6 separate regions of the Homo sapiens genome follow, and all the other regions are linked to region 6. Evidence: promoter capture Hi-C in human tissues and cell types (Jung and others, 2019). All regions are on one chromosome and are shown on one strand. Each heading gives the region's core, a stretch centred on a gene start or on the middle of the fragment in contact. The rest is flanking DNA. Distances are from core to core; before and after follow the strand shown. Region 1 overlaps CDH20 (cadherin 20). Region 2 has its middle 140 kb from the start of CDH20. Region 3 overlaps CDH20 (cadherin 20). Region 4 overlaps CDH20 (cadherin 20). Region 5 has its middle 220 kb from the start of CDH20. Region 6 holds the start of CDH20 (cadherin 20).

Region 1 (5,186 bases), core at 2,148-4,647, 130 kb before region 6:
CCAGCCAGAGCAATGGTTTTAGCTTTATTCATTTGTTGTTGTTGTTCTGATCTGAAGCAGAGGCTGACATGAAACAAACATAGCATTTCCTTTTGAAAATTGAATTCTGAAGTTGGCTTCATCTTTCCAGAATCACAGTGCTATTGCAGTTCCTTCCTAGCTTTGTGAATGTCATAAACAATTTGCATATAAAGCTCCAAATGTGGAGGTAATGACCACATTTGTGTTTTAGGATTTTTGAGGGGAGGGGTTTGATTTTTAGTGGTTATGAAGGGATTTGTTGAGATTTGTGGGATGAATGGAACTAGTTTCCCCTATACAGGAGAGATCAAGAAATGGGGAAACAAATTCATAATAAAGAACACCTTTGCCAGTCTTTTACTGGCAATTTTTAAGGAAACACAGCAAAATGTAAAGTCATACAAATGTGGCTTTTTGAGGAACTTCATTAGCATCACCCACAATCCATAGTTTACAATAAATGGGCACTGGGGCCCCCACAGGTCATGGCCCATAGCCAGCTTGCTGCAATGGAAGCGATGCTTACAGTAAGGCGAGTTCCCTGGACACGATATATGAGGTATGGATGACAGTACATTATCTAAGCCAGTTGCACTGTAGTGACTTGAAATTGGAAGACACTTAGTGGAGCAAGTAGGGGGGAAAAAGGGATACTAGAGAAACACAGTGCATTAAAAGTCTCTCAGCATTAAATATGCTTAGGAGAGATAAGAAAAAGAATATTCTTAGAAAAGATTTACCATTATTCTTTAGCAGTATGTCCTTCCCCTCCCCAAACACACACACTCACACACCTACACATCCCTACAGACAGAAATGAAAAGGGATTTCCTTCACTCAGAACATCCTTAGCGTATCTTGATGTCTTGAATCTTTTGGGGCCATAAAGAAAAATACTTGTTTTAGGGAGAAATAAGGATTTGAGAATCTTGGCTATCAAGATTGTCATTTCTGTTCTCCACACATGCAGTGAAAGGCAAACCATGCAATTTTGACTTAATTTCATTTTGACGCTGGTGATTGGATCACGGCTGCTCTTGCAGATACAGTTGAGGCCTATTAACTTGAGAGTAATCACAAAGGGACCCGTGATATGTACAGAATCACATTCTCCAGGGGAGACAACTTGATGGGAAGTATGGCTGCATTGCCTGGGTTCTAACCTCTGCTCCACTGTGTACAGGATGTGTAAACTTGGGCAAGTACTTAACCTCTTTGTGCATCCGAGTCCACACCTGTAAAACGAAGCTAATAGTAGTTCCTATGTCTACTACATAAGTCACTATATGTGAGGTAATGGGGCAGAGCCTTCGCACACAGCAAATGCTCAATAGATACTAGTTATTAGTACTAGTAAGCGAACGTAAGCCTTGGGGTCAGGCAGAATCAGCTTTAGATTCTACTTCTGTGTTTTTTGGCAAATGATTTAATATTTCTGAGGCCCAGACGGTTTCCAATGCATAGAATTGCAGGGTTGCTATAAGCATGAAATCCTCTTGTGTGCCACAGGAAGGCCCCGTGTGTAGAACATAAGAGATGCTCAGTAAAAGTTTGTCTTTCCAAAAGTAGAGAAGAAAATATCCCTATGGCATAAACTATCATGTTCATCTTTCCTCATAATTGTTTGGATCTTTTCCTTCATTATTTTTGGAGGGAGGGAGTGAATTTTTCTAACTTGGGATTTCATGGTAGTTATTGGCCAGGAGTGGTGGTTCCTCAAAGTGATTGAAGTTGCAAACTCTGTATTTGATGGATAGTGAGAAATGGAAGCTTGTTAGTAATGAGACATAAAATTGTAACTGGCTTGTCAAAAAGACACTCTATACCTGACTTTTGGGGAAAAAAACCCCAAACACCATAAATATGTTTCTTCATTGTGATGATGTGGAAATTGTCAGATTCTCAAGCGGAGAAGAAGGCAAATTAGGCCTCACAAGCCTCTCCAAATACAGAGAGAATAGGAAACTGATTTTCCAATACTACAATTTGCACATGATTCTAATGAGAAAATCTGAGGGGATATCATGGCAATATGTCTCCCCAGTGGCAGCTGATCATTATATATATATATACTGTCATTAGAGATGGTACCAGACACCTTTAGGAGTGTCTGTCTAGCATATTTCTGTCTTAGAACTGACCTTCCATCCTTAAAGGACTGGCCCCTGCAGCCTTGTTTGTAACAAAGAACTTGCCCATCCCCCAGGCTGAAACTGGAACAGGATGGACACTGAGCCAAGCCAGGCCAAGCACATTGTTTGCTGGGAGTATGGAAGGGAACCTGCAAGGATGGCTGGGGCGCTGTGCCCTGCAGAAGCAGAGCAGAGGAAGTGGGACAGAGAAGAGGGAGGCGGGGAGGGCATGGGAAGAGGGCAGGCTCTTGCTCCTTGTTTCAGTCCCTCTGGAGGCTGAGCCCAAACTCCTGTGTGTGGATTCTGAGTTACCTCTGTAGTTGTGCGCTAATTTCTTTCTTTGCCTTAAAGCCATCTTGAGGGAATGTTGTTTCCCTCAGACCTAAACTTTACTAGGAGGAGTTCCCAAAACTTTACTAGGTTAGTCCCTAGATAGATACCTCATGGGAAGCTGGCCTCAAGTTGTGGATCCAAGGAAAAACCATTGAGAGATTTCCATGGACTTAATCCTCTTCTCTGTCCCCTAGATTGTTTCGAACACCTTTATTAATTAGGTGAACTGTGGAAGGTAAAGTCGTAACAAGACGGCCCTTGAAGAAATGGTGGTGACATCATGAGCTGCATGTCCCGTAACTCTGCGTGACTAGAACATCATGTCATGAAAGGATTTTTGAATACTCATTTTTAAAGAAATGCAGTATGATATAGCATTTAAGTAAAATAGTAAGTTTCTATTGTAAATGTTGTAAGTTATTGTAAATGTTTGTAAAATAGTAAGTTTCTATTGTAAATGTTGTAAGTACAACTATACTAACAGGAATTGTTTGTAAAACGGTGAATAGAGAATCACTATTGGAATTATTTACCTTTTGTAAATTACCATTTATTTCAAAAAAAGTAATGTTACTATTCACACAGTAAAAAGAAGCTATTTGCTTCTCTTGAGAAATATGTCTTCATTAAGCTATATATATAAATAGCTATATATATATATATATAGCTTAATGAGAAAATATATATATTTAAGTGACAAGGTCTTGCCTTATTGCCTAGGCTGGAGTGCAGTGGCACAATCATGGCTCACTGCAGCCTCAACCACCTGGGCTCAAGTCATCCTCCCACCTCAGCCTCTTGAGTAGCTGAGACTACGGGCCTATATCACCATGCCTGGCTAATTTGTAAATTTTTTTTTTAGAGACATGGTTCCTCCAGGTTGCCCAGGTCGGAGCCTTATATTGTTTATGTGACTAGTATACCTCCTTCCCAGAGCAGATTCCATATCTTGGTGGGTCACTAAGTTTCTCTGTAGAATTAGAAATAGAATTAGAAATGCATAAATATTCCTTTCCCTGTGTTTTCTGGATGCTTTGATCCTCTATGCTGTTGACCTTCTTGCTTCATTTCAATGTTAATTTTCAAAATGGACCATTACAATTCACTTGATTTGAAAACAAAATTCCAACCCACGTAGTTCTTTTTTTTTTTTTCCCCATGTAATTCTTTCTGAGAGTTAATTTATTTCCAAGCTATCAAAATTTAAAAATGTTTTGGAGATCAAAGTGTCAATTCAGTTTTGCAAATCTGGTAACTCTAAAAACTCTGAGATTCTTATTGCTACTTCTATTTTATTTTATTTAGTACAATGGGAAGTATGTGTGCTACTAGCAAAAGGTCCATGCAGTTAGAAGATGAGCCAACATGCCATTCTTTGTAAAAAATGACAATTGTAACTATCAGATCCAAAGTTATGATTGAGAGAGGCTAGGGGGCTGGAGAATGACTAGAGTTAATAGATTTGGTGCTGTTCTTTGCTTTTTTTTGGTTTTCTTTTTAGCAGCTGTAGGGGTATATGTGTAGAAAGTAAGGTGTTCCAGTTCCTGCAGACAGTGACCCTATTTTCAATTTCAATTGAAAACAATATCTAGGGCATATTCTTGGGCAGCCAGGCCAACTGGTTTATTTCTAGTGAGCTCTGTGAAGAGCATGTTTAAAATACTCCTGAGGGTTTACTTGGGAGCTGAAGTTGTTTGATATTACAAGGCTTATTTTGAAATGATTGATTCCATTTGTGGATAGTGTCATTTCCTGAAGTTATGAGTCAAGATTATTGTTAAACATTGACAGACCCTGTTGAGGATTTTCTAAATATGTCCAGTGGCTTCCTACATTTTATTTTAGTACTAATCATTCACATCTAGACCATGATGGAGGATTCTAACTGGTTTTGCCACAACCTTGACTTCAACGTCAGCTCTGGGCTTGGTTCATTAATGTCTGCTTTCAAGTCTGAGAGGTCTGGCTATTATTCACTGTGATGCTAATGTTTCCTCCTAGTCCTAGATATTGATAAATGGGTGTGGTTGCTTTCAGTCCCCTGTGGCTTTGAGTCACAGCCCACATTCACTTCTAGCCAGTGTTTTGATCAGTGATTCTGTAGTGAGGATAGTTTTGGCAGGGAACTGTCAGCTCCTGCAGCAAGCTCTACCCTGCTGGGGTTCCCATACTCTAAGTTGACCAGTGCAGTGAATCAAAGCATCCAGAAAACAGATGGGAGGGGATATTCCTGGACATAGCCTGGTCTTTGCTAGCAGTGACATGTGAAGTTTTTTAGCTTATCTACCAATTTTTTTAATGGAGACAAAGGGAGGGAGTGTTGTGTGATGGGCCGAGAGGACAGTGGGTTGGTGGAGAAATCAGTGGGAAGGGGTGAGACTAGGTTTGGACAGGAAAAATAATAAGAATTGTGCAATATGTTAACTTTTTTTTTTTTAACACCTTGCTAAACCACCAAACTCTTTTTCCCTCAGCTGTGACCTTGATTTTTTTTGAAAGTTAGAAGCATAAACATGCCAGATAAGCACAAAAACTCTGAGCTTACATAAAGCATATAATGATGTTATCAATAAAATTTTAAAACAGAATTACCATAGTGGTACATATTTAATTATGCACACACTTCTTACTGTGCTATATAGTAATAATAGCAAGCGAATCACATAAACACTGTAGCTGGTGTTACTTTTAATAGGGAAG
Region 2 (4,610 bases), core at 1,516-4,015, 140 kb after region 6:
TGGCATGATCTCGGCTCACTGCAACCTCCACCTCCCGGTTTCAAGCGATTCTTCTGCCTCAGCCTCCACAGTAGCTGGGATTACAGGCATCCACCATCATGCCTGGATAATTTTTTGTATTTTTGTAGAGGCATGTTTTCACCCTGTTTGCCAGGCTGGTCTTGAACTTCTGACATACGGTGATCCACCTGCCTTGGCCTCCCAAAGTGCTGGGATTACAGGCATGAGCTGTAATCTACACCTGGCCCCACATAGCCTTTTTGATAGAGGTAAGAAATTTTCCCTTTGTGCTCTGGTAGTACCTTGTCTCAATTGTGTTATAAAATTGATTGTGAAGCTCTAGAAGTTACAGATTAGATTCTCTTTTATCTGTGTGTCTCCCATCTAACATAAGTGCTCAGGAAATAACTTTGATCAAAGCATAAACCAGTGAGTGAGAGAATTTGAGAAATTGAGGTTTTCATGTGTCTAGTGTGGGCACCAGGATACCATTCAGGAGGAAACACACAAGGAGATTCAAATTTGGGTTACAGGGAGATGAATGATAAGGATGACTAAACAAGCAAGTTAAGACGTTGAGTAGTCATGGCCCTTGAAGAGAATGGAAGCAATGTGGAAGAGTAGGCGTGGCCAGTAGCTGAAGGACATATAGGTGTGATGCCGGAGGGTGTCACCAACAATTTTATGTCTTTGTCTCTTCCCATTGGCCTTATGCTCCTACGTTTTCACCATACATTGGGCAAATTTTCAACCATGTAGCTAAATTGTTGTTACATTAGCTCTGTCTACTCAGAGACAGATTTTTATTTTACCCCAAAAATGTATAAGATATTTAATTGATACATAGTATTTATACATATTGATGGGGTATATGTGATATTTTGATACATGCGTAGAATGTATAATGATCAAGTCAGGATAATTAGGATATCCATGACCTCAAGCATTTAGCATTTCTTTGTGTTGGGAACATTTCAAATCTCTTCTAGCCACCTTGAATTGTAAAATACATTGTTGTTAACTATAATTGCCCTGCTGTGCTATTGAACAATAGAACTTATTTCTTCTGTGTATAGAGCCTTAATTTTTCCTTGCTTTAAGATATAAAATATTTTCTTGTGAGAAAACAAATTCTGAGTGTTTTTTGTCTTTATTAGAAATTTCTACATTTATGTGACAAATACTCTCATTTTTATTGTAAAAAATTTGTTTTTAATGTGTAAGATTTTCAAAATGTGGCTTTATAATTCTATGTTTAAAAATTCATTTAATTTTCTGCTCTTGCATTAATATGCTTAGGATATTGGCCTCTAGCTGCATCCACATTGCTGCAAAGGACATAATTTTCTTCCTTTTTTAAGGCTGCATAGTATTCTATGGCAGGTATGTATCACATTTTCTTTATCCAATCCACCATTAATGAATGCTTAGTTTGATTTCATGTATTTGCTATTGTGAATAGTGCTGCAATGAACATATGAGTGCATGTGTCTTTTTGGTTGAATTATTTATTTTCACTTGGGTATATACTCAGTAATAGGATTGCTGGGTCAAATGGAAGCTCTGTTCTAAATTCTCTGAGAAATCTCCAAATTGCTTTCCACAGTGGCTAAACTGATTTGCATTCTCACCAACAGTGTGTAAGCATTGTCTTTTCTCCACAGCCTCATCAGCGTCTGCCTTTTTAATAATAGCCATTCTGACTAGTGTGAGATGTTGTCTAATTGTGATTCTAATGTGCATTTCTATGGTGATTACTGACGTTGAACAATTTTTCATGTTTGTTGTCCATTTGTACATCTTCTTTTGAGAAGTGACTGTTCATGTCCTTTGTCCATTTTTTATTTGGATTATTTGTTTTTTGCTTGTTGATTTGTTTAAGTTCCTCGTAGATTCTGGATGTTAGACCTGTGTCAGATGCATAGTTTGCGAATTTTTCCCCGACTCTTAGTTATCTGTTTACCCTGTTGAATTTCTTTTGCTTTGCAAAAGCTTTTTAATTTAATTAGGTACCGCTCATCAATTTTTGTTTTTCTTGCAATTGCTTTTGGGGACTTAGCCATAAATTTGTTCTTACTCATAAGTGGGAGCTAAACATTGAATGCACACAGACATAAAGCTGCAAACAATAGACACTGGGGACCACTCTAGTTGGGGGGGGAGGAGGGGGGCATGGGCTGAAAAACTACCTATAGGGTACTATGCTCAACACCTCAGTGACAGGACCATCCATACCCCAAACACCAGCATCATTAAGTATATCCATGTAACAACCTTGCACATGAACCCTCTGAATCCAAAATAAAAAACAAAATTTCATTTAAGCGTAAAATGATACACAGAGTTGTATTCAATTCACATCAGGAGAAAATAGTGACTGATTGAGGAACTTTATATGATTGTTTTTCAGAATTATTATTGTTGTTATTTTACAACAGTAAAACCATCTTTACAAACAAAATCTTATGAGGAATATTAACTGATAAAAGAGACAAAGCCATCCTGATGTGGTTGAAGGTGGAGGTACCAGAGGGGCAGACCTGCTATTAAGTGTTAACTTTACTCTATTTGGCACAGAAATCTTTCAGGAACCTCAATGGATCCATCAAACACTGCAGAACAATTTTGATGAGACATTGCCCTACAGCAGTACTAATTTGAATAATATAGTATCTATTTCCAGACCAACACTATGGGGACTGTGGCTTAGTCCCTCTACTTTACTTTTTAGATAGATGGCTGATGATGGATCAGAGGTAGAACTGAGAGTGAGGCCAAAAGCTTAAAAATCTCTTTGAGGCTGGGCTCAGTGGCTCACACTTGTAATCTCAGCACTTTGGGAGGCTAAGACAGGAGGATTGCATGAGGCCAGGAGTTTGAAACCAGCCTATGCAACACAATGAAACCCCATACCTACAAAAAAAAAAAAAAATAGCAGAGGGTGGTGGCTCATATTTGTAGTTTCAGCTACTTGGGAGGCTGGGGCAGGAGGATCGCTTGAGCCCAGGAGTATGAGGCTGCTGTGAGCTATGATCGCACCATTGCACTTCAGCCTGGTTGACAAAGGAAGGCTCTAATAATAAAAAATAAAATCTCTATGATATAAAGTGCCTTAAAATATTATTTTTCTTTCTTGAAACCCTTGGAATGCTTGTCTTTTAAAAGAGCCTACAATGTAGTGAACCTCTGGCCTTCAAAAAACTAGTGGGCACCAGTTTGGTGTGTATAAGAAAGAAGGCAGAATGTGGGAGAGAAACTTAAAGCAATTAGATCCTAGGCCAGTCATTTACACATTTCTTTCCAGTACTGTGAGAAATAGGAAAAAATAAGAACAACGCAGTGTCAGTCAAATTGGCCTTTTCTTTATGTGATTATGGTGATAGAAGGTAGTATGTCCTATCTTGGCAAAATCAACAGGTGGCAACCCTATAGTGGTTCCCAAGTTTACTTTTTGGAAGATTACTGGCATCATTGAACCCCACAGTTTGGGAATTTTCTTTTCCATACCACAGGTATCAGAGATATTAGGCATAGTCAGCCTCTAGATGCAAGGAATGCAAGTACATTATTTCAAAGTTTTCATTTCTTGTATGTGAGGTAATTGGAATTTTCTGCCTCTGTCATGTTGCCTGTTTCTCATAGACTCACTTTATATTTATCATTTATCAGCCAGTGGTAACTGACTTTTTATACTCGACTAGTAAATCTTGGTCACTGAATTCTGATGATCGTTACAAATAGAAAAGCTGTGTGTTTGTGTCTGTGTGTGTGTGTGTGTGTGTGTGTGTGACAGAGAGAGATACTTGTGCTTCGTCAGTGAATATCTGAGCTCTAAGTGGTTGATTGAAGTTTGCAGTTTGGCTAAAGCTATTCATAAACCCTTTACTTCGTGCCTTCCTCTGCTAATGACAAGAAAGCTAAACACAGTTAACTCCTCATTTTCCTCCAGCCCTGAGCAGTTAGTTGACCCAGTTCTGACCAGGGAGATGGAAGCAGAGGCTGCTGGGTGGTGCTTAGGTTAAATTTTTAAAAAGGAACAGACCCTGTTGGTGTTCTTCTCTACCCACAGATCTTTACCTGTCTCCCCCATCCCCCTGCAACATAGACACTATGCCAAGGAATACATTAGCCCTCTGTCACCCATGGGTGAAAGCCAGGTACTGATGATGACAGCTAAGCAAAAAGAAGAATGAGCATGTGATAGCAGAACATTCTAGAAGAGCTGTGCAATGCTGGGCCTCCTCCTCTTTCACTTTTTGTTATGTGAGACCAATAAAATTATTTATCTGTAAGCAACGATTAGCTGGGTTTTCTGCTAATTGAAGCAACATGGAATTCCAAACGAAAACAGGGTTCAGTTGGGCTAAATGTTAGTTAGATACCAACTTTCACAAAAGTGAAAATTTAATTTTTTAATTGTTTCCTGTATTATTGCACATTTTATATTTTACGTAGTATACAGAATGTTTTTATTTGGCCTGTTTTATTTGGTAAGGTCTCAAATCCATTTCAACCCTCAATTTGCAGCAAGTATGCATATTTATTGCATAATTAACATAAACTCCACTTGAGGAGTGGAGTAAAAACATGTTCAGGGATGACAATCTGCG
Region 3 (4,482 bases), core at 1,492-3,991, 150 kb before region 6:
TAATGAGAAATGATAGAGAAAGTAGCTGAGGAGACTATAGAATTTTTGTAGCAGAATGGGAGGCTGTGCCTCTTATGAGCTCCAGCTCTGAAGGCAGATTGAGTGTTAAGAAAAAGCAAGCCAGGTGCACCTCATTGAGGGCAATGGGTTTGCTAATAAAGAACAATGGTGCTGCTAGCAGGTGGGTTACCAAATATTAGCTGTTCTCTCTCTCTTTGGACTGGTGGACATCTTCCCTTAGGGAACAGAGAAGCCCAGTTCATGTTTCTCTGATCCCTGTCTACAGGGAGGTGTTTGGGAAGAAGGAATTTAACCCAGGAAACGAATTGATGACAAAGATTAGTGAGAAATAGCTGTGCTGTTTTAGGGGCCTAGAAGGCAGACTAAAGGGCATTGCCAAAACAAACAAACAAACAAACAAAAAAAAAGCCACTGCCAGAATGCTGTGATTAGTAAACCATAAAAGCAATATTCTGTATATTGTAAGACACAATGTATCTATAATTCCTCAAAGTGCATTAGACTAAGAGACAGTTTGGTTACTGGTTCTATCTTCATTACCTCTGACTTATTTAGTTGTATGAATTTCAGTTTCCTCATCTATTAAGCAGGGCCAATAATTCTCCCACCTACCTCACTGGACCATCACAAGAGTCTGATGGGATCATGCAGGCAAAAAAGTGCCCTGTAAATGACTAAGGTGCCAACCGACATTTGAACAGTCAGATAAAGTACCTGGGTCATATGTAAAAATCATGGAGCTAAGCCAGAAATATATATTTTATGGATACCTTTGGGGCCAGAATTCTGAAAGGGCTTATAATATATATCTGTTATTTTTCAGATCTCTACATCTGTGATAAGTCCCGTCTGGTAGCAGATTCTGGCTCAGTCTAATTCTGTAATAACCAAACACTTGCGTTCCATTTGAGGAGATTTAATCAAGGGCTAGCTATTAGAAAACTCTTCAATAGTAAAGAAAATTATTTTGCGGATTGCGTTGATTAAAGCTAGAACTCACTATACATACATATATACGTACATATATATATATATGTATGTACGTATTCTATTTAGTGTATTCCCCTTAATGTCTTTGTTTCTTACCTATATTTTGCCTAAGCACACATGTCTGTTATTTTCTCTGGCTGGTTGTAGCAACTTGCTTTGAATCTAAGAGTGCCTGTGCATGCATGTGTGCTATGTGCAGATGTCTCCTCTTCTGCTTCCACTGGCTACATTTTATGTACAGAATGAGATTTGAGGAATTGTAAGTAGTGTTTTTTATATTCCCCATTTCTAACTAGGCATGTGTTCCTCCCAATTAAAACCCCCTATCCCCCTACCTGAGGCATGATCTGAAGAGCTCAAGGAGAAAAGCCTTCTTTGAAATCTGTGATGAATATTTTGTAGGCGGTCAGGTTGCCTGTTTTCATCTCTCCCTCTTTTCTACTTTGGCCTCCTACACACTAGTGCAAATTCTTATTTTCCTCCCCTCCACTGAACACGTACAAAGGTGACTTTGGGATCTTGACCGGGGGAGCCCTTGGTGATTCTGTGAAAGCTGATGGTACCTTTACACACCCCAAATCACAAAGACCGCAATGTCGTACCAACTCTTTCTGTCTTATATAACTTGATAGCAACAGTTGGTGCAAAGCACTTTATTTCTACTTCCTTAGGGATGAATGCATGAAAAAGACTCCCTGCCTAACTTTCTAGAAGGTAAAAGCTGGGTTATACAATAGTCGCATTATTCTTTTCACAATTAGAGGTGTTTTTTACAAAACAGTTCTATCAGAAATACTAATCAGTTTGCATTTATTATAAATGAGGTGGTTCTCATATTCATGTTTTTCCCTAGAGGATATGAATAGCAATAATGTGTTTGGGGTGGGCTAATTGCTGTTGTTCTTATAAAAGAAGATACTGATACATGTGTATTTGTATATATAGATCTGCTTTGGAAGACTACATATGCCACATGAAGAATACATTAGTGGAAATTGACTTCTGTGTTAAATGAGTCTTTTAAAAGTTTCCCCTTCATCCTCCCTAAAGAAAGAAAACAGCTTGGTAATGAACACAGTAGGAAGAAATTAAAGTTGTACATAAAGTGTGCTTTCAGTGAATTGTTTAGTTTGTTACGTAAATTCGTTGTGATATTTAAAATGTAGTGGGGAGGGATGGTTACTGCTTTCTCCTTGAAATGAACTGGGCTTTTATGGTCTTGCTCTGATTTCTTTCCTCATTATTCCAGTTTTCCTGAGCTTTTCATGGTTAATGGAACTACTGCTTAGCAAAGCTCAAATGACATCTCTATAGAAGCAGTCAGTCGACTCCGTGACTTTGTTTAAGAAGATGGGGTGTTTTAAGGTTCTGATGTGGCCTAATGCCTTTAAGAGAGGTAAATGCAGACAGTGGTGTCATGGTTTTAAGAGCCAAACTTCTTAAGCTATCATTTTTGCTTATAGAAAGAGTCTCAAAAATGCACTTAAAAGAGAGACTTTATGGAGATCTTAGATAGTACAATGAAACATGACAGTGTACCATAAGGTGCATCAACATTAAATCAGAATGCAACTTAATGTCATAATGCTATTCCACCTCCCAATCAAGTTTCTCTCTTGAGAAATAGCAACAAACCCATTTTACTTAGGAGTTAAAATCCTTTTGTATAGAGTACAAAACCCCAGAGAATGACACAGGTGGTCACCAGTATAAATTGGAGTAAAAAGTTGTTCGTGTATTTCAGTATGTATGGTTCACAAACAATAATATTCCCATTGTAGAATCCCATAAAGAAAATAGTTCGAGTGCTCCTCTAAATAAACTTTCAACATTTCTGGATTTGTTTGTGTATGTTTCTGCTACTGACCAAAGTCCATCACTAGGGATCTGTCTTGGACAGGGTGGATAGTATGGTTTTATATGCTGAAAGGGGACACAGTTCTCTGACCAGAAGTTGTTTTCATTTACTAAGTTCTTATTTCTTCTGTACTCTATACAGAAGGATTTTAACTCCTAAGTAAAATGGGTTTGTTTATTTATTTTATTTTTTTTTTGAGATGGAGTCTCGCTCTGTCGCCCAGGCTGGACTGCAGTGGCGCAGTCTCAGCTCACTACAAGCTCCGCCTCCCGGGTTCACGCCATTCTCCTGCCTCAGCCTCCCGAGTAGCTGGGACTGCAGGTGCCCGCCACCACACCCGGCTAATTTTTTGTATTTTTAGTAGAGACCGGGTTTCACCATGTTAGCCAGGATGGTCTCGATCTCCTGACCTCGTGATCCGCCCACCTCGGCCTCCCAAAGTGCTGGGATTACAGGCGTGAGCCACCGCACCTGGCCAAAATGGGTTTTTTTCTATTTCTCGAGAGAGAACCTTGACTGGGAGGTGGAATAGCACTATGACATTGAGCTGTATTCTGATTTAATGTTGATGCACCTTATGATATACTGTCATGTTTTCTTGTAATATCTAAGATCTCCATAAAGGCTCTCTTCTAAGTGCATTTTTGAGGCTCTTTCTATAAGTAAAAGTGATAGCTTAATTTTCATTTACTACAGAGGTTCTATCCATCCCAGTTTCTTCTGGGACAGTCATTAGGTGAGTGGAAGCTCCATGGCTCTTTTGTGGTCATCAACTCACCAGCCTACCCAAAGCCACCCATCTGTGGAGGCAACCAACTCCCAACAGGGTCAGAAGAGGTAGTCCAGGCACTAGATTTGCTGAATTTTGAGTTGTACTCTCACTTCCACTCCCCTACCTAACTCTCACCTGCTTCACCACACCCCTCCTCCCAACTTAACATTTCTGAAATGAGATATATCTTAAAAATCAATGTTTACATATTTAATGTTCTCATAGTAGGCTTTCCTCACTCCTCAGAGAAGCTGTTAATACATTGATGGTGTATGGAGAATCGAAGAATTACAGTATTACCTTTTTAAGAAATTGAACAGAAGAAGAAAAGGAATGCTTAATTTCCTTGGAGATTTCTTGGAAAAGGTGGTCACCACTCTTGCTTATTCTAATTCTCATTATTTATCTTTCTATGAATTCCTTCTCCATCAAGTTCCTCAAAAATGGTGGCACTCCTGAGGCTAAAAGTTCAGCTGTTATCATGTTCACTCAGGCCATTGTCAGTTCTCTGAAATCTTCTCTTTCCCACCACTCCTACTTATTTTCCCTCTCCTTCCCACCACCCAACCAGTTTATGCGAGAGTGCTGTTTTGTAAATGAGACTGGGAGCTCATAAATGGAACTATGGGGTGGATGTGGGTAAGGGGAAGGTAAACAGTAGCTTAATTGCAGTTTAGGAGCAATATCTAGTTTTGTATAATGGTAGGGATGTGTGTGTGTGTGTGTGTGTGTGTGTGTGTGTGTGTGTGTGTGTGTGTGGAGTAGAGCAAAAAAAATTGGTAGAAAGCTTGAATTATATAATTAAGAGCCCTGGCTTTGAAAAACTTGGTCAGTCCCATAA
Region 4 (4,458 bases), core at 1,197-3,696, 200 kb before region 6:
TAAGCATATGACAGCATACCACATGAGACAACTGAGTGCCTACCATATGAAACATGGTTCCACCACTTCTGAGTTATGGCTACTGGAAGACTGCATTCGTGGTTTTATTTGTTCAGAAACAAAAGTCACCTCCTCCTCCAATAAACAAAACAAATATTGCTTCAATTTTCTCATTCAAAAAATGAAATAAACAGGGTGCCGACAGTCTTGGGGAAGTTGTAAGCTATTTAAATATGGTTTATGCTACGTAATGCTTGGAATTACCCCAAGAATTTTGGGACATCCTGAGTATCGAGTCCTGTATATATTTGTTTAAAAAGAATTGTATTCAAATGAGTTCTCAAATGCTAATCTGAAACTAGAAAAGGAGAAAAGGTGTAGTTTAGTGGTTCCAGTCCTTATAATTTGTATCAACTATTGAGAAAAGAAGCCTTGTACCAGGCCCTTTCTTAACATGCTAATGACCCACCTTCTGGCAAATACAATAATGGTAATGTATTTGCTAGCTGGAGAGTCCTTAACTGTGGTATGCTTTTAGCAGGATGGACCGGATCTGGCTAGGTTGTTTACTGTAAATAAACCTAGAGTTTATAAATTTGTGGGGTACAGCCTACTGGAAAATGTCATATAAGCTATGTAATTAATGATGTATAACAAGCAAATGTTCCATCACAAAAATGGATCTTTGCGTTCGAGCAATGCACTTCGTCCATTGCTTCTACTTTTCATGTTCAGTCTGGACCAACATGCATCTTTATGCAAGAAAAGGACATTTATAGGCACCTGTGCCTGACAGTTTCAGAGCTCTCCAAGGGGAGAATGACTCATGTTTTGCTGTTGTCTGTATCATTTGAGCCATTAGTTAACTAGCTCCTGGGTAGGATCTATATTTCCTGTTGAACCTGATTTGGCAATCCAATTCTGTTGTGTTATCTCACCTGTGTTATCTCGTCTGGTCCCCATCTTGGAAGACTCAATAAATATGGATGGAGGCTCAGGCATGTGGATGTTAAAAACCCTCCATAAGGGATTTTGATATGTAGCCATGATTGAGAACCATCAATGAGAACCTTATGTAGTCCTTGGTAAAGGCCAAGTAATTTTTATCATTTTTATTTTTTAATTCTTTTTTTTTTCTGAGGTGGAGTCTTGCTGTCTTGCCCAGGCTGGAGTGCAGTGGCATGATGTCAGCTCACTGTAGCCTCTGCCTCCTGGGTTCAAGTGATTCTCCTGCCGCAGCCTCCCAAGTAACTGGGATTACAGGTGCCTGCCACCATCCCTGGCTGATTTTTATATTTTTAGTAGAGACAAGGTTTTGCCACGTTGGCCAGTCGGGTCTCAAACTCCTGACCTCAAGTGATCCACCTGCCTCAGCCTCCCAAAGTGCCGGGATTACAGGTGTGAGCCACCGTGTCCAGCCATTTTTATTTTTTTAATTGACAAGTAATAATTATATATATTTATGGCGTACAATGTGGTATTTAGATATATGTATACATCATAGAATGATCAAATCAGGCTAATTAACATGTCTATTACCTCACATATGTATTTGTTTTTTGCAATGATACCATTTAAAATCTATTCTTTTAGCTATTTTGAAATATACAATACATTATTATGAACTACAGTTACCATGCTGTGCAATAGATCACAGGAACTTACTACCCCTTACTGAAGCTTTGAACTTTTTGATTCTTTTTCCTTTTTACCCACCAGCCTCTGGCAATCACTATTGTACTCTCTACTTCTATGAGTTTGACTTTCTTACATTCTACATATAACTGAGATCATGTGGTATTTGTCTTTCTGTGCTTGGCTAATTTAGCATAATGTCGTCTAGATTCATCCATGTTGCAAATGACAGAATTTCTTTCTTTTCTAAAGCTGTATTGAATATTTAAGGCTGAAACGAATATTCCATTGTGTATGTATGCCACATTATTTTTACCCATTCATCTGTTGATGGGCACTAAGGTTGTTTCTGTATCTTGGCTATTGTGAATAATGCTGCAGTGAATATGAAAGTAGAGACATTCTTTGACATATTAATTCCAGTTCCTTTGGATATATACCCAGAAATGGGATTGTTGGATCATATGGTAATTCTCTTTTTAGTTTTTTGAGGAACCTCCATACTGTTTTCTACAATGGCTGTACTAACATTCTCATCAACGGTGTGCAAGGGTTCCCTTTTTCTACACACCCCAGCCAACACTTACGTTTCATGTTTTTGACAACAGACGTTCTAACGTTGTGAGGTGATATCTCATTGTGGTTTTAATTAGCATTTTCCTGATGATTAGGGATGTTGAGCATTTTTTCATGTATGTTGGTCATTTGTATGTCTTCTTTTGAGAAATGTCTGTTTAGGCATTTTGCACATTTTTTTTAACAGGGTCATTTGTCCTAATTTTGAAATAATATTACAAAGCTATAGTAATTATAACAGCTGGAATTAAAACAGACACATCAACCAACTAAATAGGATAGAGAGCTGAGAAAAAAACTCATGGGTCTACAGTGAATTAACTGATTTTTGACAAAGATTCCAAGAACACATAATGGGGAAAGGACAGTCTCTCCAATATAGTGTTGAGAAAACTAGATACCCACATGCAGAAGAATGGAAATGGACCCTTATCTGACCCCTTATACAAGAATCAACTTAAAATGGATTAAAGACTTAAATGTTAAGACCTGAAACCATCAAACTACTAGAAGAAACCTTAGGGGAAAAGCTCCACAATGTTGGTCTGGGCAATGATTTCTTGGATATGACCCCAAAAGCACATGCAAAAGCAAAAATAGATGAATGGGATTGTATCAAACTAAAAACTTCTGCACAACAAAGGAAACAACAGAGTGAAGAGACAACCCACAGATTGGGAGAAAATATTCTTTTCATAAAATAAGGGGCTAATATCCAAAATATATAAATAACTCAATAACAAGAAAACAATCCTGTTTTTAAAAGACCAGTAATTACAATAGCTGCCATTTGCTGAATATCAGGCACTTTACTATGTACTTAATACACAGCTTCTTTTAAAATTTTTCCAACATCTCTGGGAGGTAGTTATTATCCCAATCAACAGATAAGGAAACTGAGGCTTAAATAAGTCACTTTTTTTTCTTTCTTTAGAAATGGGTTCTCTTTCTGTCATCCAGGCTGGAGTGGTGCAGTGGCATGACCAAACTCACTGCAGCCTCAAACTCCTCGGCTCCAGTGATCCTTCCGCCTCAGCCTCCTGAGTAGTTGGAACTAGAGGCAGGTACCACCCCACCTGGATAATTAAATTTTTTTTATTTTTTATTTTAAAAGACAAAGTCTTTTAAACAGCCTGTGTTGCCCAGGCTGGCCTCAAACTCCTCAAACTCCTACCCTCAAGTGATTTTCCTGCCTCAATCTCCCAAGTAGTGGGGATTACAGGCATAAGCCACTGCAACTAGCTGAAGTCACTTTTATGCAATTACACAGGTAATAATTTAAGAGGTAAGACTTGAAGCCATCTTTATGGAGTTATAACTACTGTGTTTGATTTGAAGCTATATATACAAAATTATAACTACTATGTTCTTAAAAATTATTTAAATAGGGACTGGGAAATATATTGGGTTCAAAATTTGATTTAAAGTTGCCAGCAACTGTAATCCATATCTTAACGTTGTAGAGACGGAGAAGCAGCAATTTTGGAGGGAATAAACATTTTCTTTACTATAGTGCATTGTTTTTCAGATGTAGCTTAGTGGATTGTGAAATCAATTTGGTGGGTTATGATTAGCATAGAAAGAAAATGAAATAGAATAGAATATATGCATGCCAAACTATCACATGCAGTAAGGGTAAATATTGATGTAAAGCTTTTGTTTTTTATATATATGTGTGTGTGTGTGTATATATATATATATATATATATACATACAATACACACATGTATACAGTTGTGCATATATATCGTTGGTAAAATGTATTGTATCAAATACAATGTATATTTTTTTTCTGCAGAGATTCAGGATGGCTATTTAGGAATTAGGAATTAAAGAGAAAGCTGATGAGTAAGAGCTAGAGAAATCAGAATCATTTAAGTTATGACTCCCTAAGAGTTAGGAAATTTAAGGAAGAAAATTAATGTTTCTCTCTGCCTGTGACCCTATTTAATGAACATTCACTGTAAGCCAGGCACTGCTCAGCACACATCACCTATATGGACTCATTTAATCTTTACAATAACACCATGAGGTAGGCACAATTATGATCCTTATTTTACAGGTAAGAAGTCTGAGGAGTAGACAGGTTAGGTCCCTTGCCCAAGGTCACATTGCTGGGAATCAAGCCCAGGCAGTCTGGCTGCAGGTTCTGCTCCCAGCCACCAGGCCATGCTGCCTTATTGACACATAGTCTATAAGAGATTGTCTAAGGAAACAAGACTTTATCTTTTAAAGATACGAGTATTA
Region 5 (5,051 bases), core at 1,173-3,672, 220 kb after region 6:
AAAAAAAAAGAAAAATAATTTGTAATCCAAAGAACCAGAAATAACCATTATTAACATCCTGAAATATATTACACATTATTACAATGTTTTCTCTCCCATTTTATAATACCTATACACCGATACACACAAAGTTGGTATATATCTATTGTTTTGTATTTTGCTTTTTTTATTTGTCATATCATAAACATTTCAATTTAATTGGGTGTATTTTGGAACAAAAGTTTTGAAAATGAAATACTATTCTCTCATTTGGGTATACATAATTAATCTAAATATTATTGTTAACTACTTAGATTCATGACAATTTCATTGTGTTAAATAGGGCTGTGAAACACTCCCTATATATTAATATTTTGTTGTATATCAGATTATTTCATTAGAATTGATTTCCATAAATAAGGATATTGCATCAAAGCATTAAGATGTAAAGATTGTTGCTAATTCTGATTGTTTATCAGAAAGCTTTCTCTTTCTTTTTTTTGTTAACCAATTTATACTTAAATTACTTATGTGTGAGTTATGCCTCACCACAGCTTCTATATGTACATGTGCTACTGTAAAATACTTCCAATTTCATTTGGGGAAAGGGATAGCTCACTGTGGGTTTAACTTGCATTACTAGTGAGGTTGGACATTAAATATGTTTATTGGCTACCTGTAATTATTTTCTGAACTATTTATGTGCTTTACCAACTTTTCTAGGTGAGACCACTCCTTAGAGACTTCTAAGAGCTCTTTATATCTTATTTACTAAGATCTACTACATAGCAGACATTGGATGATAGAAACTGTGGTAAACAAAATCACATATAGCTCCTGCCTTCTGAATCTTATAATCTTTTAATCTTTGCCTGTACTCATTAACTTTTGTTAAAAACATTTTTATCAAAATAGCCGGTGAATCAAGTAACATGGAAGTGCTAACTCTGCTTTCCTCAGCACTCTTTGTTCAGGGGCACATTCTTTTGGTGCTTATTCCCATGGTTGAAATCAGTCTTATTCTCCTCTTTTTTAAGACTTAGAAACACTAGATAATATCTAAGCAACTCTAAAATGAAAAGTTCAGATGCAGATCCATTGTACTATTGCTTTCTTTACCCCTCATCAATGTTTCAGATTTATACAATTTTTAGTCTTTCTCTTAGTTACTTTTGTAACTTAAAATAAGAGACTAAAAACTATTTTTTGTTACATGAAATTTTAGAAATATCTTCATATTTTGCAGTTGGAGGAATTATTCTTTCTTCTTTCTCCATTTTTGTCTCATACCAACATAAAATGAATTATACCTTCTCTACACTCAAATGTTTAAAATTGTGCCATGTTTTCTTTGCTTTTTATGAAAAAAATATATACTAAATATATATATATACTAAATAGCTTTCTGATTCTTAATTACAACTGTATTCTATTGAAAGGATATATTATAACAAATGCCCTATACGTAAACATTTACATTGTTTCCAGTCTTTTGCTCTTATAAGGTTAAAATATTACCAGTTTTGGATAAAAATGATGGAATGTTGGTAATATATATAACAACCTAATATAAAATTGCTGTTTTTATATTTCCAGATATTTAATTTTGATAAATATTGCCAAAATTTTCTACATAAGTCTGATATAATTTTGTGTTATTATGAGCAGTTTATGAAGAAATCTAGATTTGCTAATATTTGCTTGTTCAATTTGCAGTTCTGCCAATTTGAAAGATGAAAAAATAAGATCTACTATTAGTTATGATTTACATTTCTATTACTATGAGTGAGGTTGAGTATCCTTTCATATGTTTACAGGCCATTTTAACTTCTGTTTGGAGGATGAGCTGTATTCATATCCTTGAACACTTTTTATATTAAATTTCTGGATTTTTTTCTTGTTAATTTTTTATGAGGTTTGTAGTTATTAAAAGTTCTAATCTCATATCTGATAGGAGTTGCAAATATATTTTCCCAGCTTGCTAATCATCTTTCAATGTTTGACATTTGCTTTTTAATTTACTCCTTAAATTTTTTTTTTAACCACAGAACTTTTTGATTTCTATATATCTAAAATTTTCTATCTTTTCTTTCATAGCTCTACATTGTAAACAACAGGGTGGTCTTCTTTCTTCAAGATCATGAAATGATGACTCAACTTTTTTTTCTAATAGACATTTTTTTCTAATACTTTAATAATATTACACTAACACTGAAATCTTTGATCTTGGTTTATTGTGGTATGAAGTGTGGTTTCAAGTGTGTATGTTTCCAGATGGCCACCCAGTTTTGTCAACATAATTTTTAAATATATATATCCTTATGTACTAATTTGATAATTGTTATATAAATATATTTGGGTTTATTTCTCAACTTTTCATTCTTTTCCATTGGTCAGTCTATTCATGTAACAGTAACATAGTTTTTACTATCAAAATTTGTATTTTAATATCTAGCAATGCCAGTGACTCTTATATCTCTTATTTTTTTAAAGATTTTCTGGCTATTCTTGCTTTTTAGGTGGTGCATGTAAACTTTGAATTGAATTATGTAGTTGCAGATGGACAAAAACCTTTTGGTATTTTCACTGGGTTCACACTGAACTTAAATTGACTTATGTAAGATATTGAGTCTTAAATAAATAGTAATTTTACTTCTAGTTGTTTAATTTCACTTCCGTATCCATCATGAGAATTTGAGCTATTTTCAAAAATATTGTCTTGAATCTTCCTTGTTAAGTATATTTACTGGAGTTAAAATTTTTATTGTAATGAGATCTTCTATTTTATCTTCCTTTTTAATTATATCTTATTTTGTTCTTTAAATTAATTTTGTACTTTATTATCTATCTTACTACTTTTACTCACTGTGTGGGATTTCATCTTTCTACAAAGATGATAGGATTGATTGTGTATTGGAAGGGTTGGGGAATAAGAAAAATTCTTGAGTAAAATTAATTTTCTTGTTAAAAGCATTGGTAAATATCTCCAGTAGAATGTTAAATAGTTGTGATGAAAAAGTGATATGTGTATTTATCCTGTTAATAAATAATCTGCCAAATTTTGTCAAATGTCTTTTTTTTTTGTATCTAGAGGGAGATGATCATGAGAATTTCCCCCTCAGGAAAGTTTCTCTGATCTATTAATATAATTGACTATAACTGCCTGATACCAAGTTTATTCACATATTTTTAGAATAAACTCCAGTGAGTTGTTACCTGTTAAGTTGATGTTGACTTTGGCTTGATATACTCAGGATTTTTTTAATGTTAATATTCGTAAGTGAGGTTAATCTATAGTTGTCTTTTTAAATGAAATATTTGTTGGCTTTTATTATCAATATTATATTCATTTTAAAAAACAATTGGGATGTTTTCTTTCTTTCTGAGTCCTGAACCCAGTTATGGAGCACTGGAATTATTTACTGTCTAATTTCTATTGAAACTACCCAGTGAGATCTCCTAGCTTGGTGCTTTGTTAGTGTTAGCTCTTAATTTCTTCTGTGCTAAAGAAAGTATAACACACTAAGTTTCACTGAATCATATTCTCCTAGAAAACTATTCAATTTATATAGGCCTTTACATTAAGTTGCCTAGAGTCATCTGAAGTAGTCTTATAATTTTAAACATTTCTGTTCTTATGATTACTTTCTCTTGCTCTTTTATTTTTTCTCTTGAATAAATTAGGTAGTGACAAATCTATGGATCATTTTCAAAAACACCATTCATTCATTCATTCATTTATGCTATGTCATCAATTTATGAATGTACCCTAATTTCTTCATTTGCCTTTTGTTTTTTGGTGTGTTTGTATTATGTTTCTATTTTCTGACTCTGAGCCAGATGCTTACTGCATTTATTTTCATTTCTTCTTTAAAAATGTTTCCTGTAGGACTTGCTTTAGTTATATTTCGTAAGTTCTGATATATATTGCTTTTATTGCAGTTGTTTCTGTAACTTCAGTTGGTATTTTCTCCTGACTTGAGACTTTTTAAAAGGTTTGCTTTTTAAAATATATATATTTGTTAGTTTTTGTTTGTTTGTGGTTTCCTTTTCCTTTCTGGCTTAGTATATTGTCAATTTTCTTCTTTTGTATGTACACTTGAAAAGAAGTGTTTTCTATAACTTGAAAGCATAAAGTTTGCTACATAAAAATCATCTGGTTGATTATAACATGTAGTTTAAATATTTTATATATATATATTTCTGTCTTCTTGATCTGTCTTGATTAGAGAAGTAAAGTGTTCTTTTAAAAAGGTATTTCTAATTCTCACAGTATCAACTGTAATTGCTCTTTGATGAAATTTGCTACTGGTATTTGGTGTCTGATAATAAAAGTTTTATGCTTTCATTATTATTTGCCTCCCTTAGCATTTTGAAGTGTCCTTATTTGTCGCTGTTAATGCTTTTGAACCCTGAATACCGCTTTGTCTGATACTAACTTTGCAGTCTCTGCTTCCTTTTTGGTTGTATGTTCTGGTCTACTTTTGCCCATATTTGCATTTTTAAACTTTCTAAATAGTTTGGTTTTATACATGTTTCCTGTAATAAGCATAGACTTGTCTTTAGCTTTGTGATAAAGAGAAAGATTTTTAATATTTATCTGTGAGGTAAGCTCCCTCATATTGGTCAAGATGATATTCATATTTTATTTCTGTTATGTTTTGTTATGTTTTCTGTTTAAAATATAGGCACACCTCATTTTATTTCACTTCACAGATATTGCACGTTTTACAAGTTGAAGGTTTGCAGCAATCCTGCATGAAGCAAGTCTATTGGCAACATTTTCCAATAGCATGTACTCACTTTGTGTCTCTGTATCACATTTTGGTAATTCTCATAATATTTAAATTTGTTTTTATTCTTACTATATCTGTTATGGTGATCTGTGATCAGTGATCTTTGAGGTTACTAATGTAATTGTTCAGAGGGCCATGAACTGTGCCCATAGAAGTTGGCAAGCTTCATCAATAAATGTTGTTTATGTTCTGATTACTCCATTGACCAGCTGTTCCTGTCTCTCTCTTCTCAAGCCTCACAATTCCCTGAGACACAACAATGTTGAAATTAGGCCA
Region 6 (4,718 bases), core at 55-2,554:
ACAAAACAAAACAAGGCTCTGACGCTGCCTCCGGGCTGCCTTCCAGATTTCAGCCCCCACTGCTGCCCCAGAGGCGGATAGCTAGGCAAAGGCTGCTGCAGTCTCTCCGATTGCTAAGGACACGTTGAGAGTCCTCGGTAACGTTCTCTTTGCAAATCTGAAACTTTAGCCCCATTTGACCCCCTTGCCCCCGGCTCTTCCCCCAGAGTAACTACAACAAGCAAAAACCAAACAGCGAGCGCAATTCAGAGCTTTCCTTGGGAGTGTCAGGGCCCGAGGACAGGAAATCCGGGGAGTTGGCGAAGTCCGGCAGGTGGCGGGGACTCGAGTACCCACCACATTCTCCTCCCACAGCCGAGCTCCGGCGGGGGCGCGGCGCGAGGCACGGACCAGGGATCGGCCCCGTAGGTGCCTGCGCCTCCCCGGAGCCTGGCTCTCTGGTCCCCTTCCCGGCGCACATCTCTGTGCGAGGGACGCGGCCACCCTGTCCCCTCTGCAGGCGGAGGGAGGCGCCACCGCCTGCGGGGCCAGCGAGGGTGAAGCCGTGCCAAGCGCCCCCACAAGCCGCGCTCCTGGATCCCCAGTCACCATCCCCAGGCGCGCGCAGTCCCCGCTCCCAGCGCGCCACGTCCTCCACCTGCCCCGGTGCGCCCCAGCTTCCCTGCTTCCAGAGAGCAGCTCCCCCAGTCCCGGCAGCCCATTTCCAACCCCTTCTCCCACTAAGTCCGAGGAAGTCGAACTCGGAGCGGCCGGTAGGCTCGTCGAGGTGGCAGGGAGTTGCTGGGAGAGCACAGCGCGGAGAGGGACCGCGCACGCCGCCCGGGGATTTCGCCCCAGAGGGCTGGCTCCGCGCGCCCGGAGTCCCAAGCCCCAGAAGCGGGGCCCGACCCGAGCCCTCTGCGTTACCTGGCACCGCCGGCGACTCTCCGGAGACCTTCGGTCCTAACTGCTCCAGGGCGGGCGTTCTGCTCACGTAGCTGCCTCCCCCACTGGGCGGCTGGTGCCCCGCTGGGTCTCTTCACCCCTGCTCGCGGCGCTGTCCCCGCCCCCCACCCCCCTACCCCCTCTGTCAGAAGTGTCACAGCTTTTCTGCCTTCGGATGTTTCGCAAAGTCTCCGTGCGGTTGCCAGGAGTTGGGGGGTACTGCCAAGTGCACCAACCCCGCCGATGCCCTGCCCTGCCCTCCCGCGGCCACCGCGTTCGGCCTGTCCAGTGAGAAGAGCCCCCTGGTCGCGGTCACCGTCCCCCGAGCGTGGCGCGCGGTCCGCTTCCCCTCCCTCGCGCCTTCCCTAGCAGGAGTGGCTGCTGCCTGCCTGTACCGCGGGTCCTCATTCCCCTGCTCATGAATATTCTGACAGAGGCTAATGCCGCTGAAGTAAATTGAATTAGCCAATTGGTGCCAGGAATGTGCGCTCCTTCCTTCTGAGGAGCTGTCTGGAACCCCACCAGATGAAAGCAATTAACGTCCGGTTGGCACCCTGTGGTTTAGACCAGTGAGGGGCAAAATGGGTTAATTCTTTAAATGCAGTTTAGATACCGCATTTAAATGTTTCAACTCCTCTATTGGCTGAGAGCGTAAGGAAATGTTAAGAGGGAGAGAGAAGAAAGGGGATGTGTGGACGTGGGGAGGGGGGCGGGGGTATTTACATCTAAACTTTCCCCTGAAGTTGAGGTAATTATTTTGCACAGATTCTGGAAGAGGCAATTGAGGAGTAGAACAGGATAAGGCAAATAAAATCAGAAAGGAAATGAGTACCAACTCGGGTTTAACCTTGACCTTGAGGGTGCAAAAGACATTGTTTTCAAGAGGAGAGGTAGGGGAAGATGGCATGTGTGAGGGAAACCTCACTCATCGACTTTTAAGAATTTCTTCAAATGCTCAGATTTCCTTTTCTTTTTGTCCTCATAGGAAAATCTTAGAGTTTTAAGCCTTTAACTAGAGATGGGGTGGAGGTATATTAAGGGTCAGAAATTTCTGAGGTGGAAGCTGAGACCACCCTTCTCTCCCAGATGAAGGGGGTCCCCCAAATCACACAATACTGTGACAGGCCCATTCCAGAAGGCAATTCCAGCTCTTATTTCTGAGGTCAGAATACACAAGGTCAAAAGGAGAGATCACCTCTCTCCTGTCCTGATTCCTACCCTAGAATGTCAAGTTACTGACGACAACTTGGGTTTCACAGTGGCTGGAGGGGGACTTTTTGCCCGATGTGGTTTCTACATTTCTCTTCAAGCAAGGTGCTTGGAGGATTTCCTCCCCCATCACTGATTGTAATAGAGCAAGTTATTTTGATTGAATTGATAGGTTACTAAATAATCTATTTGTACAACTGCTCTGTGGCCAAATGATCAATGTGTGTAAAGAACTGATAAAATGATATATATAAACATCCAATAAGATTCCCAAGTGTGTGACAATAGAAATAGTATCCCAGTTAAGGCAGTCATGCCATATTTTAATAGCTTTCAGCAGGCCTAGAATTAGAACTCATAGTTATAACAATGATTATTAATAGCAGAATAGCTAATGTTTATGGAGAACTTGTTATGTGACAGACATGTGTTACACATGTTATTTCATTTCATTTTTCCAACAACTCTATTCAGTCTAGACTATTATTTCTCTATTTTAATAGATGATGCAGATGTGGCTCAATAAAGTAAGGGCAGTTGACCCTTGAACAACATGGGGGTTAGGAGCACTGACCCTCGTGTAGTCAAAAATCCGCATATAACTTTTCACTCCAAAAACTTAACTACTAATAGCCTACTGTTGTCTGGAAACTTTATGGATAACATAAGCAGTCGACTAACACATATTTTATATGCTATACATTTTATATGCTGTATTCTTAACAATAGTCTGGAGGAAAGAAAATGATACTAAGGAAATAATAAGGAAAATGAAATGTATTTACTATTCATTAAGTGGAAGTGGATCATCATAAAGGTCTTCATCCTTGTTGGCTTCATGTTGAGCAGGTGAAGGAGAAGGAGGAAGAGGGAGGCTTGGTCTTGCCCTGTCAGGGATGACAGATGGGAGAAAATCCATGTCTAAGTGGACTCATAGAGTTCAAACTTTTGTTGTTCAAGGATCAACTGTAGTGTGTCCAGGTCATATAGCTCATAAGTGGGGAGATCAACTTTGACCCAAAGGACTCTGATTAGTGGTCCAGGGCCTTCCGGTCTCTAGCAGCTTAAACTGTCTTCTTGTCTAAAAAGAAAATCAGTTTCTTGGTGTTTTGTTGAAGTGACTTGTTTTTGGTGATCAATTTCTTACACAAAATTTAGAGAAAATCATGAGTCTTTTTTTTTTTTTTTGGATAGTGTGATGGTTAATTTTATGGGTCAACTTAACTGAGCCATAAGGTACTCAGATATCTGGTGGAACATTATCGTGGAAGTTTTTGTGAGAGTGTTTTTTGGATAAGATTAGCATCTAAATTGGCAGACTGGATGAGGGAGAGAGATTGCCTTCCGTAATGTGGGTGGGCCTCATCCAATCAGTTGAAGGCCTGAATAGACCAAAAGGTTGATCTACCCTCAGATAAGGGCTGGCTTTTCTCATGTTTTTATAGGTTCTTATGAGAAGTCTTTGGGATGAAAGATGTCTTCTTTTACCTTCTACAAACGTGTGTTTGAAAACTTTTTTTTACCAAAATTATATTCCATTTACTGAAAGGAAACAGCACATTATAAAGTGCTGTTTCTCTGCACAGAGCTTGTGTCTAGTTTTTAGGACTAGATATTTGCATATTTTTATAGGTCTTATGAAAAGCCTTTGGGATGAGAAATGTCTTATCTTCTACGATGGTAAAATTTTCTGGCCTGATGGGAAGAATTTTCTGGCCTGATGGCCTTCAAACTCAGACATCATCTCTGCAGATTATGGATTTGCCAGCCTCCCTAATTGCATGAGTCAATTCCTTATACTATATCTACCCATCTACCTACCTACCTGCCTACCTACCTACCTTTAGTTGGTTCTGTTTCTTTGGAGAACTTCAACTAATACAAATTGATATATTCAGTAAACACAACTATTTGTGAATCTCCCATGGATATCAAATGTCTCCATCTCCCAATACATTGGTACGCAGTGTGCAGTTTTTTTACTTAAGATTTTCCAGGCCTATTATTAATAAGGTAAGAGCAATTTTATTTTTCCTGTTTTTTTAAACATGGGTGAGACTACCAGATTTAAATAACATTTTATCTTTCAAGTACTGAAAATGGACTATAATATATTAGATTAAAGCAAAATTTATAGATATTATATAAAGGGAGAAATTTGAGTATTATAATTTTAGGGATAAGAATGATCAGGTTAAATCTTTGAATTCAACAGTTGTTGAGTACCCACTAAATGCAAGGCACATGTCTATTCAAATGTTTTCTGTTCAAATCCACAGTTAAATCCCTTTTAAACGTTGAGGATCTGCCATATTTTATTCTCTGAAACTTTGGGTAGTTTAAAACTTTTTATGTTAAAAAAGTGTATGACTGTTTTATTCTCATATTAAATACTGATGATTTTCCCAATCATGATTCCTCCCTTACAATGCTCTGTTAGTTCTTCCTTTTACAGAGAGAATCCACTTAGGATTTAGAAGCAGCATTTCACAGAAATGTCTTTAGATGTTAGAATATGTATTTATATGAATATGTTAACATGATTTTAGAGCTCATAAAATGTTATCAGGATGAGTGCTTTCTAT

Evidence for each region. The method cuts DNA at HindIII sites, captures the fragments that hold promoters and counts their contacts. A contact is called where the count stands out against the background at its distance.
Region 1: a fragment that was not itself captured here is called in contact with the fragment with the promoter of CDH20 in region 6 in 4 of the 25 tissues and cell types used here (dorsolateral prefrontal cortex, hippocampus, mesendoderm cells and 1 more).
Region 2: a fragment that was not itself captured here is called in contact with the fragment with the promoter of CDH20 in region 6 in 7 of the 25 tissues and cell types used here (H1 embryonic stem cells, adrenal gland, aorta and 4 more).
Region 3: a fragment that was not itself captured here is called in contact with the fragment with the promoter of CDH20 in region 6 in 5 of the 25 tissues and cell types used here (bladder, dorsolateral prefrontal cortex, hippocampus and 2 more).
Region 4: a contact is called between a fragment that was not itself captured here and the fragment with the promoter of CDH20 in region 6, in 5 of the 25 tissues and cell types used here (hippocampus, liver, lymphoblastoid cells and 2 more).
Region 5: a fragment that was not itself captured here is called in contact with the fragment with the promoter of CDH20 in region 6 in 5 of the 25 tissues and cell types used here (H1 embryonic stem cells, aorta, mesenchymal stem cells and 2 more).

The regions. Positions count from the first base shown.
Region 1 is chr18:61,464,053-61,469,238 of GRCh38, reverse strand. The region is part of intron 1 of CDH20 (cadherin 20); the gene reads right to left. Among named protein-coding and RNA genes, the nearest start is that of CDH20, 130 kb to the right of the region's middle. The HindIII fragment of the contact is 5,102 bases long and covers 847-5,186 here.
Region 2 is chr18:61,189,671-61,194,280 of GRCh38, reverse strand. No RefSeq gene overlaps it. Among named protein-coding and RNA genes, the nearest start is that of CDH20, 140 kb to the left of the region's middle. The HindIII fragment of the contact is 5,069 bases long and covers 231-4,610 here.
Region 3 is chr18:61,484,656-61,489,137 of GRCh38, reverse strand. All of the region lies in intron 1 of CDH20 (cadherin 20), which reads right to left. Among named protein-coding and RNA genes, the nearest start is that of CDH20, 150 kb to the right of the region's middle. The HindIII fragment of the contact is 7,068 bases long and covers 1-4,482 here.
Region 4 is chr18:61,531,996-61,536,453 of GRCh38, reverse strand. All of the region lies in intron 7 of CDH20 (cadherin 20), which reads right to left. Among named protein-coding and RNA genes, the nearest start is that of CDH20, 200 kb to the right of the region's middle. The HindIII fragment of the contact is 5,872 bases long and covers 1-4,458 here.
Region 5 is chr18:61,105,983-61,111,033 of GRCh38, reverse strand. No RefSeq gene overlaps it. Among named protein-coding and RNA genes, the nearest start is that of CDH20, 220 kb to the left of the region's middle. The HindIII fragment of the contact is 5,995 bases long and covers 1-5,051 here.
Region 6 is chr18:61,330,016-61,334,733 of GRCh38, reverse strand. It overlaps CDH20 (cadherin 20), which reads right to left and starts at 1,304. Exons shown (of 12, transcript NM_031891.4): 1 at 907-1,304. The HindIII fragment of the contact is 19,388 bases long and covers 1-4,718 here.